Linked DNA regions of Homo sapiens: all the other regions are linked to region 1. Evidence: promoter capture Hi-C in 16 types of primary human blood cells and fetal thymus (Javierre and others, 2016). All regions are on one chromosome and are shown on one strand. The core of a region is centred on a gene start or on the middle of the fragment in contact, and the rest is flanking DNA. Distances in the headings are between cores, read along the strand shown. Region 1 holds the start of TWIST1 (twist family bHLH transcription factor 1). Region 2 has its middle 150 kb from the start of HDAC9. Region 3 has its middle 34 kb from the start of MIR3146. Region 4 overlaps LOC105375180 (a long non-coding RNA gene). Region 5 overlaps HDAC9 (histone deacetylase 9).

What was found. Contacts are between HindIII fragments. The CHiCAGO score rates a contact against its expected background, and 5 or more counts as called.
Region 2: a contact is called between a fragment that was not itself captured here and the fragment with the promoter of TWIST1 in region 1, in 1 of 17 cell types (megakaryocytes). The highest score is 5.7, in megakaryocytes.
Region 3: a fragment that was not itself captured here is called in contact with the fragment with the promoter of TWIST1 in region 1 in 6 of 17 cell types (megakaryocytes, M2 macrophages, M0 macrophages and 3 more); the score reaches 20.8 in megakaryocytes.
Region 4: a fragment that was not itself captured here is called in contact with the fragment with the promoter of TWIST1 in region 1 in 1 of 17 cell types (megakaryocytes); the score reaches 7.0 in megakaryocytes.
Region 5: a fragment that was not itself captured here is called in contact with the fragment with the promoter of TWIST1 in region 1 in 1 of 17 cell types (M2 macrophages); the score reaches 5.2 in M2 macrophages.

The regions. Positions count from the first base shown.
Region 1 is chr7:19,116,245-19,119,159 of GRCh38, reverse strand. It overlaps TWIST1 (twist family bHLH transcription factor 1), which reads left to right and starts at 1,524. Exons shown (of 2, transcript NM_000474.4): 1 at 1,524-2,489. The coding sequence starts at 1,839. The coding sequence ends at 2,447. RefSeq lists enhancers at 1-377, 1,451-2,234, 2,258-2,517. The HindIII fragment of the contact is 6,123 bases long and covers 1-2,915 here.
Region 2 is chr7:18,346,655-18,349,569 of GRCh38, reverse strand. It overlaps a transcript of HDAC9 not described here. Among named protein-coding and RNA genes, the nearest start is that of HDAC9, 150 kb to the left of the region's middle. The HindIII fragment of the contact is 5,296 bases long and covers 1-2,915 here.
Region 3 is chr7:19,670,076-19,672,990 of GRCh38, reverse strand. No RefSeq gene overlaps it. Among named protein-coding and RNA genes, the nearest start is that of MIR3146, 34 kb to the left of the region's middle. The HindIII fragment of the contact is 2,220 bases long and covers 351-2,570 here.
Region 4 is chr7:19,649,778-19,652,692 of GRCh38, reverse strand. The region is part of intron 4 of LOC105375180 (a long non-coding RNA gene); the gene reads right to left. Among named protein-coding and RNA genes, the nearest start is that of MIR3146, 54 kb to the left of the region's middle. The HindIII fragment of the contact is 250 bases long and covers 1,356-1,605 here.
Region 5 is chr7:18,584,914-18,587,828 of GRCh38, reverse strand. HDAC9 (histone deacetylase 9) reads right to left here. Exons shown (of 26, transcript NM_178425.4): 3 at 2,307-2,548. Among named protein-coding and RNA genes, the nearest start is that of HDAC9, 91 kb to the right of the region's middle. The HindIII fragment of the contact is 848 bases long and covers 934-1,781 here.

The DNA of each region.
Region 1 (2,915 bases), core at 275-2,774:
GCAGCCGCGAACCTTGCTCCAGCCCAGAAAGGGGCGCTTTGCTCAATTAATTGTTCCCGCCGGCGAGTCCGTACTGAGAAGCCCATGAGCGGACCTTATGTGCAGGGTACTCCAGCGCGGTGCACAAAACTCGTCGCCCCCAAACGCTGCCCCCACCCCAACACTGTGTACTGACTCCAGCTTTTTACTTTGCCATGTAAGGGATGGACCTGAAACGGTTATTTTACCTCAATTCATTTCAAAAAGGAAACAAGTATGGCATTGCAAAAGATGGGCTTCTTATCCAAGGCGACTTCCTTTCTGGTTCACCAACTTTGCTGCTTCCAGTTTGCCAGGATCTACATTAACACCCTCTTTGGGGCTCTTCGTTTTAACTTACAGACAGAAATGCTTAAAATGTTAGCGTATCCAAGCATTTGGAATTGGGGCTCACGAAGCCTAATTGTCCACTGGATGCCCTAGATAGTGGGGGCTGGGGCGGGGGGGGTCTCAGAGCGGGCAGCCCCTATGTCTAGGCGCTATCAAATTCCCACTTCACTCTCTTACAAGCTGGCCTTTCAAGGTCACAATGCGGAGCCTAATTTGGGGGTGGGGATGAAATGGCCACAGGGTCTCTCCCTTGGGTTGGCATTGCCAGCTGTTAGGGCCGCAGCAAAGGCGCTGCGCTGCCCCCCTCTGGCTCTGCTGCCTTTCCCATGGACTGGGTTTCCTTCCACCGAAGAGTGAACTTCTGCCTCTTTCGAGCACCTTCCGAGGCGTAGTCCTTTGGATGTTGGGGAGCGTCAGACTGGGTCGTTGTAGAGGGGAAAGGAGGGCCCAGAAGGGCGAGAGAGCAGGCCGGGACGCAAATCCTCAGCCCCCGCGGCGCGGCCACGTCTTCAGAAACGCCCAGGACCTCCGGGCTGGGCCGCCGCGGTTTGGCCTTTGGAACTCCAAGGGGTTCGTCTACCTGACCATTGGGTGGGCTCCGCGGTTGACACTTTTCTTGGCATGCCCCCCCACCCCGCGCCACACCACCCCCCCAGCCCCAGCAATCCCAAATCGGCCCCACGGACCTAGAGGGCTCTTGGGCGAGATGAGACATCACCCACTGTGTAGAAGCTGTTGCCATTGCTGCTGTCACAGCCACTCCGGATGGGGCTGCCACCGCGGCCAGGACAGTCTCCTCCGACCGCTTCCTGGGCTGCGCTAGGGTTCGGGGGCGCTGCCCGCACGCTCCGGCGGGGAAGGAAATCGCCCCGCGCCCGCCGGAGGAAGGCGACGGGGAGGGAAGGGGGAGGGCGGCTAGGAGGCGGGTGGAGGGGCCGGCCGCCCGGGCCAGGTCGTTTTTGAATGGTTTGGGAGGACGAATTGTTAGACCCCGAGGAAGGGAGGTGGGACGGGGGAGGGGGACTGGAAAGCGGAAACTTTCCTATAAAACTTCGAAAAGTCCCTCCTCCTCACGTCAGGCCAATGACACTGCTGCCCCCAAACTTTCCGCCTGCACGGAGGTATAAGAGCCTCCAAGTCTGCAGCTCTCGCCCAACTCCCAGACACCTCGCGGGCTCTGCAGCACCGGCACCGTTTCCAGGAGGCCTGGCGGGGTGTGCGTCCAGCCGTTGGGCGCTTTCTTTTTGGACCTCGGGGCCATCCACACCGTCCCCTCCCCCTCCCGCCTCCCTCCCCGCCTCCCCCGCGCGCCCTCCCCGCGGAGGTCCCTCCCGTCCGTCCTCCTGCTCTCTCCTCCGCGGGCCGCATCGCCCGGGCCGGCGCCGCGCGCGGGGGAAGCTGGCGGGCTGAGGCGCCCCGCTCTTCTCCTCTGCCCCGGGCCCGCGAGGCCACGCGTCGCCGCTCGAGAGATGATGCAGGACGTGTCCAGCTCGCCAGTCTCGCCGGCCGACGACAGCCTGAGCAACAGCGAGGAAGAGCCAGACCGGCAGCAGCCGCCGAGCGGCAAGCGCGGGGGACGCAAGCGGCGCAGCAGCAGGCGCAGCGCGGGCGGCGGCGCGGGGCCCGGCGGAGCCGCGGGTGGGGGCGTCGGAGGCGGCGACGAGCCGGGCAGCCCGGCCCAGGGCAAGCGCGGCAAGAAGTCTGCGGGCTGTGGCGGCGGCGGCGGCGCGGGCGGCGGCGGCGGCAGCAGCAGCGGCGGCGGGAGTCCGCAGTCTTACGAGGAGCTGCAGACGCAGCGGGTCATGGCCAACGTGCGGGAGCGCCAGCGCACCCAGTCGCTGAACGAGGCGTTCGCCGCGCTGCGGAAGATCATCCCCACGCTGCCCTCGGACAAGCTGAGCAAGATTCAGACCCTCAAGCTGGCGGCCAGGTACATCGACTTCCTCTACCAGGTCCTCCAGAGCGACGAGCTGGACTCCAAGATGGCAAGCTGCAGCTATGTGGCTCACGAGCGGCTCAGCTACGCCTTCTCGGTCTGGAGGATGGAGGGGGCCTGGTCCATGTCCGCGTCCCACTAGCAGGCGGAGCCCCCCACCCCCTCAGCAGGGCCGGAGACCTAGGTAAGGACCGCGCCGCTGCACCCCTTCGCCTCTCAGGTGGCAGACGGCAGGCCGGCCAGGCCGCGGTTCCCAGTCCACCTCGATTTCCTCCCCTCTCCCACTCTCCGCTCAGCCTTCCCACCTCACTTGGCACCGTTGCCTCGCGCCCCCAGCGTCCCCGGAAGGCCGGTCTGACCCCGCTAGGGAGAGCAGTCTCCAGGGGGATGCGCCCTGGTGAGGGGTGTGTGTGCGCGTGAGTGTGCGTGACAGGAGGGGAGACAGAGACACCCAGGGTCACGGGTAAGGACCGTTTTGTCAGCGCCACCCTTTCTTTCGGCTTTCAATTTTTGTTCTCCTTAAAACAAATGTTTTAAAACAAATTCCACCTCCTCCTCCTTTCCACCCACCCACTTCCTCTTGCCCTTGGGCTGAAATCCTTCCAGGTTG
Region 2 (2,915 bases), core at 191-2,690, 770 kb after region 1:
CAATGTTTGAGAATCAAATATTTATTGCATCCCTGCTATGTGCTAGGCAGTGGGGATAAAGCAGATAACATTAAGCTACCATTCTCAGGCACTAACATTATACTGGGAGAAAGAAAAAATAAAGAAAACTATATTAGATGTTAAGATGTTAGCTGTTGATCACTGCTATAGAGAAAAAATAAGCCAGCAAGGAGGAAGGGCAATATCTGTGTGTGTGTGTGTGTGTGTGTGTGTGTGTGTGTGTGTGTGTGTGTGTGTGTGTAGATGTTCTCAAGTATGGGAGGTCATCTGGAAAGACATCTCTAATGAGGTCAGGGAGAGGTGCACAGCTTACCTAAGGCAAGACAGTTTCAAGCACAGGGACCAACAAATGCAAAAGCCTTAGAACATGAAAGACATACGGTGCAGTGCTTTGTAGGCCTTAGTAAGTAAAGAAGCTGAATTTTACTCTGAGTGACAGAAAACCATTAGGAAGCCAATGGGAGAAATTCATGTTCTCATATTGGGAAAATGACTGTATTAAAGTTATGGGAATAGCTTATAGTGGACAGAACTTGGGCTTGAAGACAGATATACAGGTATTAAAATAATTTCTGTTCTTCACAGCATCATACCTATAAGATGCTGTCTCAATTACTGAGTTCTGTGTTCTCAGACTCCATTTAAATAGTCATAATACCTAAACTGCACTACTACTGTGAAGATTAAATAATACAAGCAGCATCCAGGACTGTGCCTGGATTACAGTAAGTGCTTAACAAATAGTAGCTGTAATTTTAATAGTGTTGCAAGAAGTTGAAATATGTGAGTTTAAGTAGGAAATACACCAATTTTAAAAGGGCTAAAGAGAAGGCAGAAGGAGAAAGTTTGTGTTAGGAGATTTTGGATCCTAAAAGTTGTTAAAGGATTCTTTACCTCTAAATACATCTCCAAAAGATGCCAGTAAGAACCACAGCTCAGAACAACAGATGTGTGATTGCATAATGAAATCTTGGTGTATAGTAAAAATACCTAATAGAAATAATTAAATTATGACCCCTACAGTATAATAGATGCCTAAAAACAGTGGTATTTTTCAGAAAAATTAAGCATTTCTTGGGGCATATCTAATTGAACCTTCCCAAAAATCCATGAGTAAGGTATTATCCTCATTTTTTAAATGAGAAACTGAGATTCAGAAAGGGTAAAAGACAAGTTCAAAAATCACACATGTAGTAAGTGTGCTCAAATCTGGTCCATAGTATAAATGCTCAATAAGTGTTGATAGCTAAGCATTTCCTAAATGAACATACGAATCTATACTCCATATCTTACCTCTTAATCGCTGACATTGCCTCTATAATTAATTAAATCAGATAAATGTTTCCCAAATTCTCCTGATCATAAGAATTACCTGGGGTGCTTGTGCTTTTCATGTCCAACTGCAGGACCCAAAATATTTTGTGGAGCAGCCTAGAAACTGATATTTTAAACCAGCAATTCAAGAGATCCTAATGATGAGGGAATTTTGAGAAACAGTTGCTAGTTACTGCATGATCCGTCTTTCAACTCCAAAATTTGCTACCTACTTCTCTCTTAAAATTAAAAGCAAGAATCTATGACTGTCAACCCTTTATCTATTTCAAAACTCAATACTTATCATCTACTTTGTAAAAACAGAGGGCACTGAGATACAGATTAAAAACATACTGCCGGCCAGGTGCAGTGGCTCGTGCCTGTTATCCCAGCACTTGGGGAGGCCGAGGTGGGTGGATCATCTGAGGTCAGGAGTTTGAGAACCCCATCTCTACTAAAAATACAAAAAATTAGCCGGGCGTGGTGGCATACACCTTGTAGTCCAGCTACTCGGGAGCCTGAAGCAGGAGAATCACTTAAATCTGGGAGGCAGAGGTTACAGTGAGCCGAGATTGCATTCCAGCTTGGGCAACAGACTGAGACTCTGTCTAAAAAATAAAATAAAATAACGTAAGATAAAATAAAATAAATAAGAACATGTTGCAGTTTATCAACTTGGTCTAAGATCCCTTTGTTTAACTGAATAGGAATAAACACAATTTACATGGGAGTTGTTGTTTTTGTTAGTTTTGTTTTCCCATTAGTGGTAGAAATCTAAGCAAATGTCTAAGTAAGGATGTTCTAGTATTAAAACTTTCTGCATGGACTCATTATGAAAAACATCCTCCCCTAAGCCTCCCCAGGGAGTCATAATGGGGTTCCCATAGTATCTAGAAACCTTACTTCATGTTTTATTTCTTGGCTGCACAACTAAGAGTGTTGCTAATGAAGTGCTCATTTTCCTTCACTTTCTGCTAAGAGTGGGAAAATTTATAATATGCTTTAAAAATACACATAGCTACATATTCTAGCAATTGTTGAGTGGTGTGTACTTTGCAGTGCTGGTAACTAGGATTGGAAAATGTTACATTAATACGGTGAATTTTATTTTTCACCAAGTATTGTGTTCTAAAAAGAGTTACTGTGAAATATTCATTCAGTATGGTGCAGAAAACAAATATGAACAACTTTTAAAACCCCCATCCCATGGTACAATATAAAGAAATTGATGCATAGATGTCTTATTTCCTTTGTGCCGCCAGCCTCTCCTATGAATGCCACACCCATGAATTAGGAAAGACTGAACAGATCATTTTAGACCTAGAAAACAAAGTGGTGGATTGGCTATTCCACTTTCCTCAGATGAAGAAAAATGACCTGCACTCTCAGCTTCTGGCTCCCAACCAAACAATGGGAAATTTTCTCCTGTTGCTATGAGATTTTGGTGAAATATAACTGATGAGAATCATCAATAAACCATACCAGTGTCTATTGTAATTGTGGAAGAAAAAAGTGTCTTTCGATCCCATTGACCATTACCTTATCAAAAAGCAAAAACATCTTATTTTCAGATGGGAAGG
Region 3 (2,915 bases), core at 211-2,710, 550 kb before region 1:
TATTTCACCTTTTGAAGGAGATTTGGCTCCTTTCAGTTTGGCAATTATGAATAAAGCTCCTAACAACATTTCAAATCAATTGACTAAATACCTAGAAGAAAACTGCTAAATTGCATAATAAGGCTACATTTTACTTTGTAAGAAACTGTCAAGCTGTCTTCCAAATTTGTTGTACCATTTTACATTCACATCAGCAATGGACTTTCTGTTGCTCTGCAACCTTATCAGTAATTAGTATTGTCAGGGTTTTTATTTTATTTTATTTTAGACATTTTAATGTGTGCAGTCATATCTCATGGTTGTTTTAATTTGTATATCCCTAATGTATATTGAGTATCTTTTCATAAGCTTATTTGCCATCCGTCTATCTCTTTGGAGAGGTGTCTATTTAGATCTTTTGCCCAATTTGTTCATTGAGAGGCTTTTAAAAAAATCTTAACTTGATGGGAATTTTATTAGAATTCCATTAAAGGAAGATTTAACATCTCAGTAATATTACACCTTCAAATTCATTAATATAGAATATCTCTCAATTTACTTATATCTATGATTTCTTCATTCAATGTTTTGCAGTTTCTGCATTCAGATGGTATTCATACTTAGTTAGAATTATATCTACAAGTATTTCATTTCTGGCACTATTGTAAATGTATTGTTTAATTTTAAGTTCCAATGTTCACTGATGGTGTATAGATAAGAAAGTGGCTTTTATATATTCACTTTATAATCTGTGACCTTGCTGTATTAACCTATTGGTTGCAGAAATTATTGCGTAGATTATTTGAAATTTCTGCATAGGCAATCATGTCATTTCCAAATAAAAACAGCTTTTTTCAATATGCATACCTTTTCTTTCTTATTTTAGTGCTCTAAATAGAGCTTCCCTTATGACGCTGACTATGACTGCTGTGAAAGGACATCCTTACATTTTCCCAAACTTAGGGAAAAAGCATTCAGTCTTTCAACATTAAGTATTAATTGTTTCAAAAAGAGGCTTGTTTCAGAATGGTGGTATGTAGATTTTTTTTTTGCATAACTCTTATTTTTTCTAGCAAAAAAATTTTAGAAAATTTTCTCTATTCTTAGTTTGCTTAAAAATTTTATCATGAATTGGATTTTTTTCAAACGTTTTTCCTGCATCAGTGTATGATTATATCCTTTTTCTTTTATATCCTTTGACAAGTCAGATTATGTTGAATGGTTTTTAATGTTGAACAAGGCTTGTCCATATTGAATAAATCCCACTTCATCCAGGTGTATCTTTTTATATTATTAGATTCAACTTGCTAATATTTAGTTGAAGATTTTTGAGTATATGTTCATTAGAGATACTGGTCTGTAGTTTTTCTATTATGTTAGGTCTCTATCTGGCTTTGAAATTAGGGTAACACTGGCCTCATAGAATAAGAGTATTCTTTATGCTTATTTTTTATGGAAGACATTGTGGAGAATTAGTATTATTTCTGACTAAATGTTTGTTAAAATTCACCAGTGAAACCAACTGGGCCTGGTGTTTTATTTTGGAAGGTTATTAATTATTGGTTAAATTTCCTTAATATACTTAGGGCTACTGAGGTTATTGCTTTCTCTTTGGGTATGTTTTTCAAGACATTTATTCATTTCATTTAAGCTATCAAATGTATGGACATAGAGTGTTCATAGTATAACTTTGTTATAATTTTAATGTCAGTGAAATCTGTAGTGGTGACCCTTCTTTCATTTCTGAGACTAACTGCAGCATTTCCAAACAATTTTCTTGAAGCCCTGACGCCTATTGACTATGTCTTCTCCCCTCTCTTTGGTGAGACAGGAAGCCTGGAAGGAGGGCTGAAGTGGGAATAATACCTTGGGGTAAACTACAGCCCAGTCTTTTCTCCCAGAGATTAGGCCTTTATTATGGAGAAGGTTCTCAGAATACTTCAGAATGATTAATACTTCCTTTCTCTGCTAGAGCCACAAGGAATCTTTCTTGGATCTTCATCATATAAACATGCTGTGATTCCTGGAGGCTGCCCTATGACTATGACCTCCAGTAGTTTCTCATATCACACCAGTCCACACTCCATCTCCAGCAATTCATTAAAATGACCATAAAATATTTCTATCAGATTATGACTCCAAGGTAAGCGGATCTTGGCTGTGTCTCTCTGGATGTGTCTGTCTCTCCAGATTTCAGGGTGGAGGTTTGTCCTACAACCTCAGTTGTCTGATGGGTCCAAGGAAAGTCTTGATTTTCAGTTTATCCTTCTTTTTCACGATGTAAGGGTAGGAGTGACAACTTTCAAGCTCTATATATGTCAGGGTTGAAACTGGAAGTCTACTAGTTGATTTAAGTTGCAAAGACATTTCAATAAAGTAAGGACTGTCCTTTGAACACATGGTATTGGAACAATTTTATATAAATCAGTCAGAACACCTCAATCTAAATCTCACACCCTATATAAAATATTAACTCAAAATAGATACATCTAAACAAAAAATTTCAAACTATAAATTTTTTGAATAAAACATAAGTGAACATTTTCCTGACATTGATTTAAGCAGTGTTTTTATGTATGGCACTAAAAGCTTGATCCACAGAGAAAATAAAACCTAAGCTGGATTTTATGAGAATTTAAAACTTTCTTGTAAATTTTTAAATTTGCTTTCTGAAAGACATTTTTCAGAGACTGATAAGACAAGCTCTAGACTGGGAGAAAGCACAGTCGCTTCTTGTTATTTGCGCTGGTTATGTGCTATAAAGTACCATGAACAATGAATTGGTGAGTACCGAATAATTGCTTCTGGAGGAAATACATGGTTAATTCTCTGGTCACAATATTTTCATTAACTGATCAATACACATCCTTGTTATATGTTTGTTTCTGTTTAAATATGCCTTATTTAATAAGTATTGTTTGCTCTTTAACATTGAA
Region 4 (2,915 bases), core at 231-2,730, 530 kb before region 1:
ATTAATTTATTGTAATTCTCAGATTCCTTGAATTGGGTTTTAACTTCCTCCTGAATCTCAGTAATCTTCATGCCTATCTGTATTCTGAATTCTGTTTCTGTCATTTCAACCATTTCAGCCTGGTTAACAACACTTGCTAGAGAACTAGTATGGTCATTTGAAGGAAAGAAGACACTCTGGCTTTTTGCATTGCCAGAGTTTTTGCACTGGTTCTTTCTAATTTTGTAAGCTGATTTTCCTTTAATTTCCAGGTAATTTGAGTACAGTCAGTAGATCTTTTTTCTGGATGTTTTCAGACAGTCAAGGCTTTGTGCAGGGTCCTTATCTGTAGCTGAATTTTTGTCCTTGTTTTCACAGGGGTGTACATTAGCAAAGCATTTTTGGTGTCAAAGTTTGGGCTGCAATCCTGTAGACAGTGTTTGGGCATAATGGTTAGTAGGTAGGTTCTTGCTCAGCCACCTGGGTTCTCTGTATTACCTCATGATTGCAGCCATGCTCCCTCTCAACGCTCTCAAACTGTGGGCTCCTCTCTCATTTGAGTGCTGTCTGCATATCTTGGCTTAGCGCTCTTGAGCTGCACACTGCAGCTCTGGGGTGAGCTTATACTTTATGTTCCCTCTGCAGCTTGGAGGCAGGAGGGGAAGGGATGTTGGTAGTGGATGTGGCAGAGGGTCTTTTACTTGTCTCTTGGGGTTCCACCCCAGAGAAATGCAGAGCCACTATAAATAACTCTGACTGGCCCAAGGTGGGGGCGCCTTCTCTGTGGGCCCAATCTGAGGGGACTCTGCCTGGTGATGAACATGGGGTACAGAGGGGTCATGAAGACAGACTGGCCTCATCTCCTTACGGTCACTGCAGCTTGCTGGAGGTGTGCTTAAAGCACTAAGGATCTTTGCCCTTTCCCCAGTCCAAGGGTAAAAATAGCAGTGCCACTGCAGTGGTACTGGCAGAGGGGCTTTCAGTTGTCCCTGGGTCTAGCTCAGAGAAATGTAGAGCAACTGCTACCAGAAATGTTCAGTGAGAGGGTAGAGAGGCTGCACTGCTGCCTGAGTCAGGGGCTCTTCTTGGTGAAGAGCCAGGGTTGACGGCTCTCAGAGAGAAGAGACAGAGCTCCTCTCCATACAGTGACTGTGGCATGCTGGAAGTACAAGTGAAACCCTTGCACTTGCAAGTGGTTCAGCAGGAACAGAACCATTGCTGTGTTAGTGGCAGAGAGGCTGTTGGTTGCCTCTGGGGGCCCCTTCCCAGGGAATCACACAGCCAATACCAGTGGGTAAGCTCAGCCAGGGATGGGACAACTGTTTTGTGGTCCCAAGTTGGGGCCTCTGCATTCTGAAGAGTGGAGTATGGAAGCTTACAAGGAAGAGAGGCTGGACTCCTCTCTGTATGGCAGCTGCCGAGTGGTGGAGGTTCCAGCATAGCAACCAGGCCTTTTGTTCCTTCTCCAGCCCAATGGTGGTTAGGGCAGTACTACGGCCGCTGCAATGGCAGAGGGGCTATGGGTTGTCTGTGTGATTACCTCCTCAGAGAAATGCAGAGCCATCTCTGACTAAAGTGTTTGGGTAAGGGCAGGGTAGTTGTGCTAGAGTCCTAGGTCAGGAAGCTTTGACCAGTGAAGAGAAGTGGGAACGGGGACCCATGTGGAAAACAGTCTGGCCAGTTTTCTGTGGGGCAGCTTTGCTGTGCTGAGGGATCTGTGCCAATTCCTAATCACCGTGCTCCACCCAGGGCCTGAGGGCAACAATGGTGAGGGTTGTAGGACAGCAAGAATGGCCACCTGCATCTCTGGGAACTCTGTCCCAGGGAAGTACAGAGCTGCTACTGGCCTGAGAGCCCAGCCGAGGGTTGGCTGGAGTCCTAGGTTGGGAGGCTCTGTCCAGTGAGGAAAAGCAGAAATGAGGACCTGCATTGAAAACAGTCTGGTCACTTTTCTTTGGGGTGGCTTCACTGTGCTAGGGATCCACTCCAATCCCTAATTACCATGCTCACTCCAGAGCCTCAGGGCAACAGTGGTGAGGGGTGTGAGAGAGCAAAAATAGCAGCCTGCCTTTCCCTCTGGGAGCTCTGTCTCAAGGAAGTTCAGAGCTGCTACCAGCTTGAGAGCCCAGGTGGGGCAGAGGAGGGCACACTATGGTCCCAGTCCAGAGGGCTTTATCCCAAGAGGGCCAGTAGAGGCAAACTCTGCAGTCTGTCATGGCTCAGCCCCCAGGATTTGGCTCCTTTTTTCAGGGTATGCAAGGGAGCCTGACCTCCCCCATAGCTGGAGCTGGAGCCACTAATGCTGGGATGCCTGGGGATCCAAGGCACCTGGGACTCCATGTGTGCCTGAGTGGTGGCCTTGCCCAGACTCCATGTAGCTCTCCATGTCAGTCTGGAGGACTTGGAGTGGGGACTCATGCGGGAATCTCCTGAGCCCAGGGTTGCAAAGCTCCGTGGCAGAAGTGTGGGTCCCTGGGGACTCTCACTCACTTACAATTTCCCTACTATAGAGGGACCTACCCTGGCTTTGTGCCACTCCTGGGTGGGCAGTTGTCCTGTCTCGCTCCTCTCTGTTCTCCATGGGTCGAATTGTTTCCTTGATTAATCCCATTGAGTCCACTTGGACATTCCAGCAGAAGAGGTTGTATTTACTCACAATTGTTTCTCTCTCAGTGAGAACAGTGCACACTAGCTGCTTCTAGTCAGCCATCTTTACTCTTCTCAAATGCTTTTTATCTTTTCCTTTCTCTGTCTTGTCTTCTGTGAATTCTATAACGTGCATATTGGTATGCTTGATAGTGTCCCATAAGTCCCTTTGTGTCTTCATTTTTCTTTCTTTTTTCTTTCTTCTCCTCAGGCTGGATAATTTTATTTTAGCTATCTTTAAGTGCCCCAATTCTTCAGAAGTTACATCTCGGTTTAACCATTCTAGTGAT
Region 5 (2,915 bases), core at 108-2,607, 530 kb after region 1:
TGCATGAATGAGGTTTAAAACAATAGAAAGAAATAAAACTTTAGCCCTCTATTGCTAGATGTTCTGGCCCATGAGAGAGGCAGGGCAACTTAAGAGCTTTGGAGGCAGACAGGGCAAGACTGTAAATCTTGGAGCAACAATTTATTGGCTATGTAGCCTTGGAAAGGTATCATTATTTTTCTCTACCTCAGTTCACTAGGTGGAAAAATGGAATAACAGCATCTAACTCAACAAATGTTGATTATTACAGAAGCTAACGATTCAAAAAGCTAATATAAATAAAGCATCATGTAATGCATCTTTCTCATAAAAATAAAATCTTAATGAAAAGCATCAACTTTTAGCTTTATCCATAAAAAATACAAGACAAAACAAAATAAAAATTCTAAAAATCAAAAAACTTCCTAATCTGAAAAAGTAATATTAATTATGTCTTTGGTTTCTAAGAAAACAAATTATTATTTTGGAAAATCATTTTAAAAGCTAAATTTTCCTTTTAGCTATCTCATAATTCTTTTTTCTCACAGGAGCCACTTTTCCAATATTTTCCAGATGTCAATAAACCAACACTATTGTTTTGCTTGTGCCAAATGAACAATTAATTATCTACTTGCTACTATTACCTTTTGAGTAAAATTAAGCAATAAATTTCTTTCTAAACAATTTATATTAACTTTATAGCTATCAAAGGCAGCAATATAAATGAAAAGAAGTATCTAAAGCAGTAACTTATCAGTATTGCCCTGTATTTAGGGAAACATGTCTCACTTAAAGCAGCAAAATGAACTACACAGTCCCTTACATCTTAAAGTATGGTGAAAAATGTACATTTTACTCATTTCTCTTTGCCATCTTAACATGCTGGAAGGAAAGAAACAGATCTAGATATCAATGTTTCTATTATTGTTTCAAAGGTCAAATTTAAATAAAGCTTCAGTATTCATTCAAAAATAAGTCTAAAAACTAAAGAAAGGCTACCCATACTTCAAAATGTAGCCATGAGCTACTGATTCCATTTGGGACAAAAGAAAATACTCTCACTTTAAGGTATTTTGTACATCAATAATATACAAGAGTTCTTTTTGGAAAGTTCACTACTAAAAGAAATAAATATATTTTATATCACTTGTCAAAGAGCCTTTTTAGGAATATACGATAATAAAGTTCTTTTAGGATTAAGAAACATCTTGTAAACCAAGTAATATAGAGAAGAAGATAGCATTTTTACTTCCTTAGAAACTGTCATATTAATGTGGTAAAATTACATACTAGTAACATCAGTTATCTGTATCAACCCTCTATCAATGTGCTTGTACTTGATATGCAAGTAATAAAGTTCCTATAATACAAAACAATAAAGTATGAGATAACATAATTTATTACATTCACAAATTAGCAAGTGTTTGTCATCTTTGAAAGTTAGATATAAAAATAAAATTTTTGTTGTAAATCTTTGCTGCTTTTCTGTCACAATAAATTCAAATTAAATAGCCTTGTTTCAACTGTCTTTGTCAAGAAGTTGCAAGATGTTTTACAAATAAAGCTAAAGTAATATTTATCTCTGAAGATACAAAATTTAAAAAAACAGACACATCTAATATTATTAGATAATAAAATAAGTTATTATTAAAAATTCTGGAATATGGATATATTTGTGCTAAAATAATTTAAACAACTTTAGTCTCAAATTGTCAACTACTCCCAAATACTTTCAATAAATTCTTATCTACAGTCTATAAAAACATTTGCACCAGTTTCTCCATTTATAACTCCCTTAAGCTTTTTATTATACTATTATTTTGAATGTGTACATTATGAGATCTTTTCTATAAGGAAGAGTCGGACATACTCAGAACATCTACTTATACACCATGTTTGTTTTTTAAAAACAGCTCTCTTCATATAAGGTGACTAATTTATCCTTTCTCACAAATAGTACATGTAGACTCTTCAGAAATGAAATATGAAATGGGTCTTCTAGGCTCATGCTTCTTCTTGGTGGAGAGCAGATGGGGCAAATGAACAAAATCACGTAGGAGAGAATCTAAAATTAGGATAGGAAGTTACTATTCCCTGCTATTGATTCTATGTGCTAAAGGATAAAGAAGGTCCCTCTGAGAAGCAAAACAGGTTTTTAACAGGTACTTACCCAAAGTTTTCACTAGTAAAATCACAATTCCCTTCAAGCCATATATCCATGTCTTAATCACAGTGAATCTACCCGCAAAGTGTTCCCATGGGCACTGTTCATGCCCACCACGGTGCAGACTCCTGAGTAAGGTCACAGACAAAGAAGCATTTGCTACCTTGATATGCTCCTGAAGCTGAGCCTGGTGCTGCCGTGTCAAGTTCTCATGCTGTTTCTGAAACTCTGCTATCAGAAGCTGCTTCTGGATTTGTTGCTGCTGCTGGATAAGAAGTAATTCCTGCTGCAATTGCTTCTCACGGACAACAGGGTCCACCACGGGCATCATCATCCTGAGGTCTGTCCTTAGGTCTAAAGGTGAGATGGGCTCCAGGCCCACAGGAACTTCTGACTTCACATCCACTAAAGAACCAGAAAAAAAGGGAAATGGGGTGGGGGAGGGTAATAGAAGATTGGAAATTAGCACATTGATTTGGAAACAAATAAAAAGTATAAGACCCTGTACAACAAATTTTATGCCAATGACTCTAGCCATTTCTTTACAATGATGATATAAAGTCATTTGTACATTAGTTTTGATAAATGGGCCATAGGCTAATTTTCATTCAGCAATTTGCACTCTGCCATGAATCCTCCACAATTTCCTTTTACAAACAGGTGACTTCAATTGTTTACTGGTATCAGTCATTCATAAAACTTATTCTACTGAACCACTAACAAAAATCAAGTCAACGAGGACAAAAAAAAAAATGGAATTATGTTGAGGAAA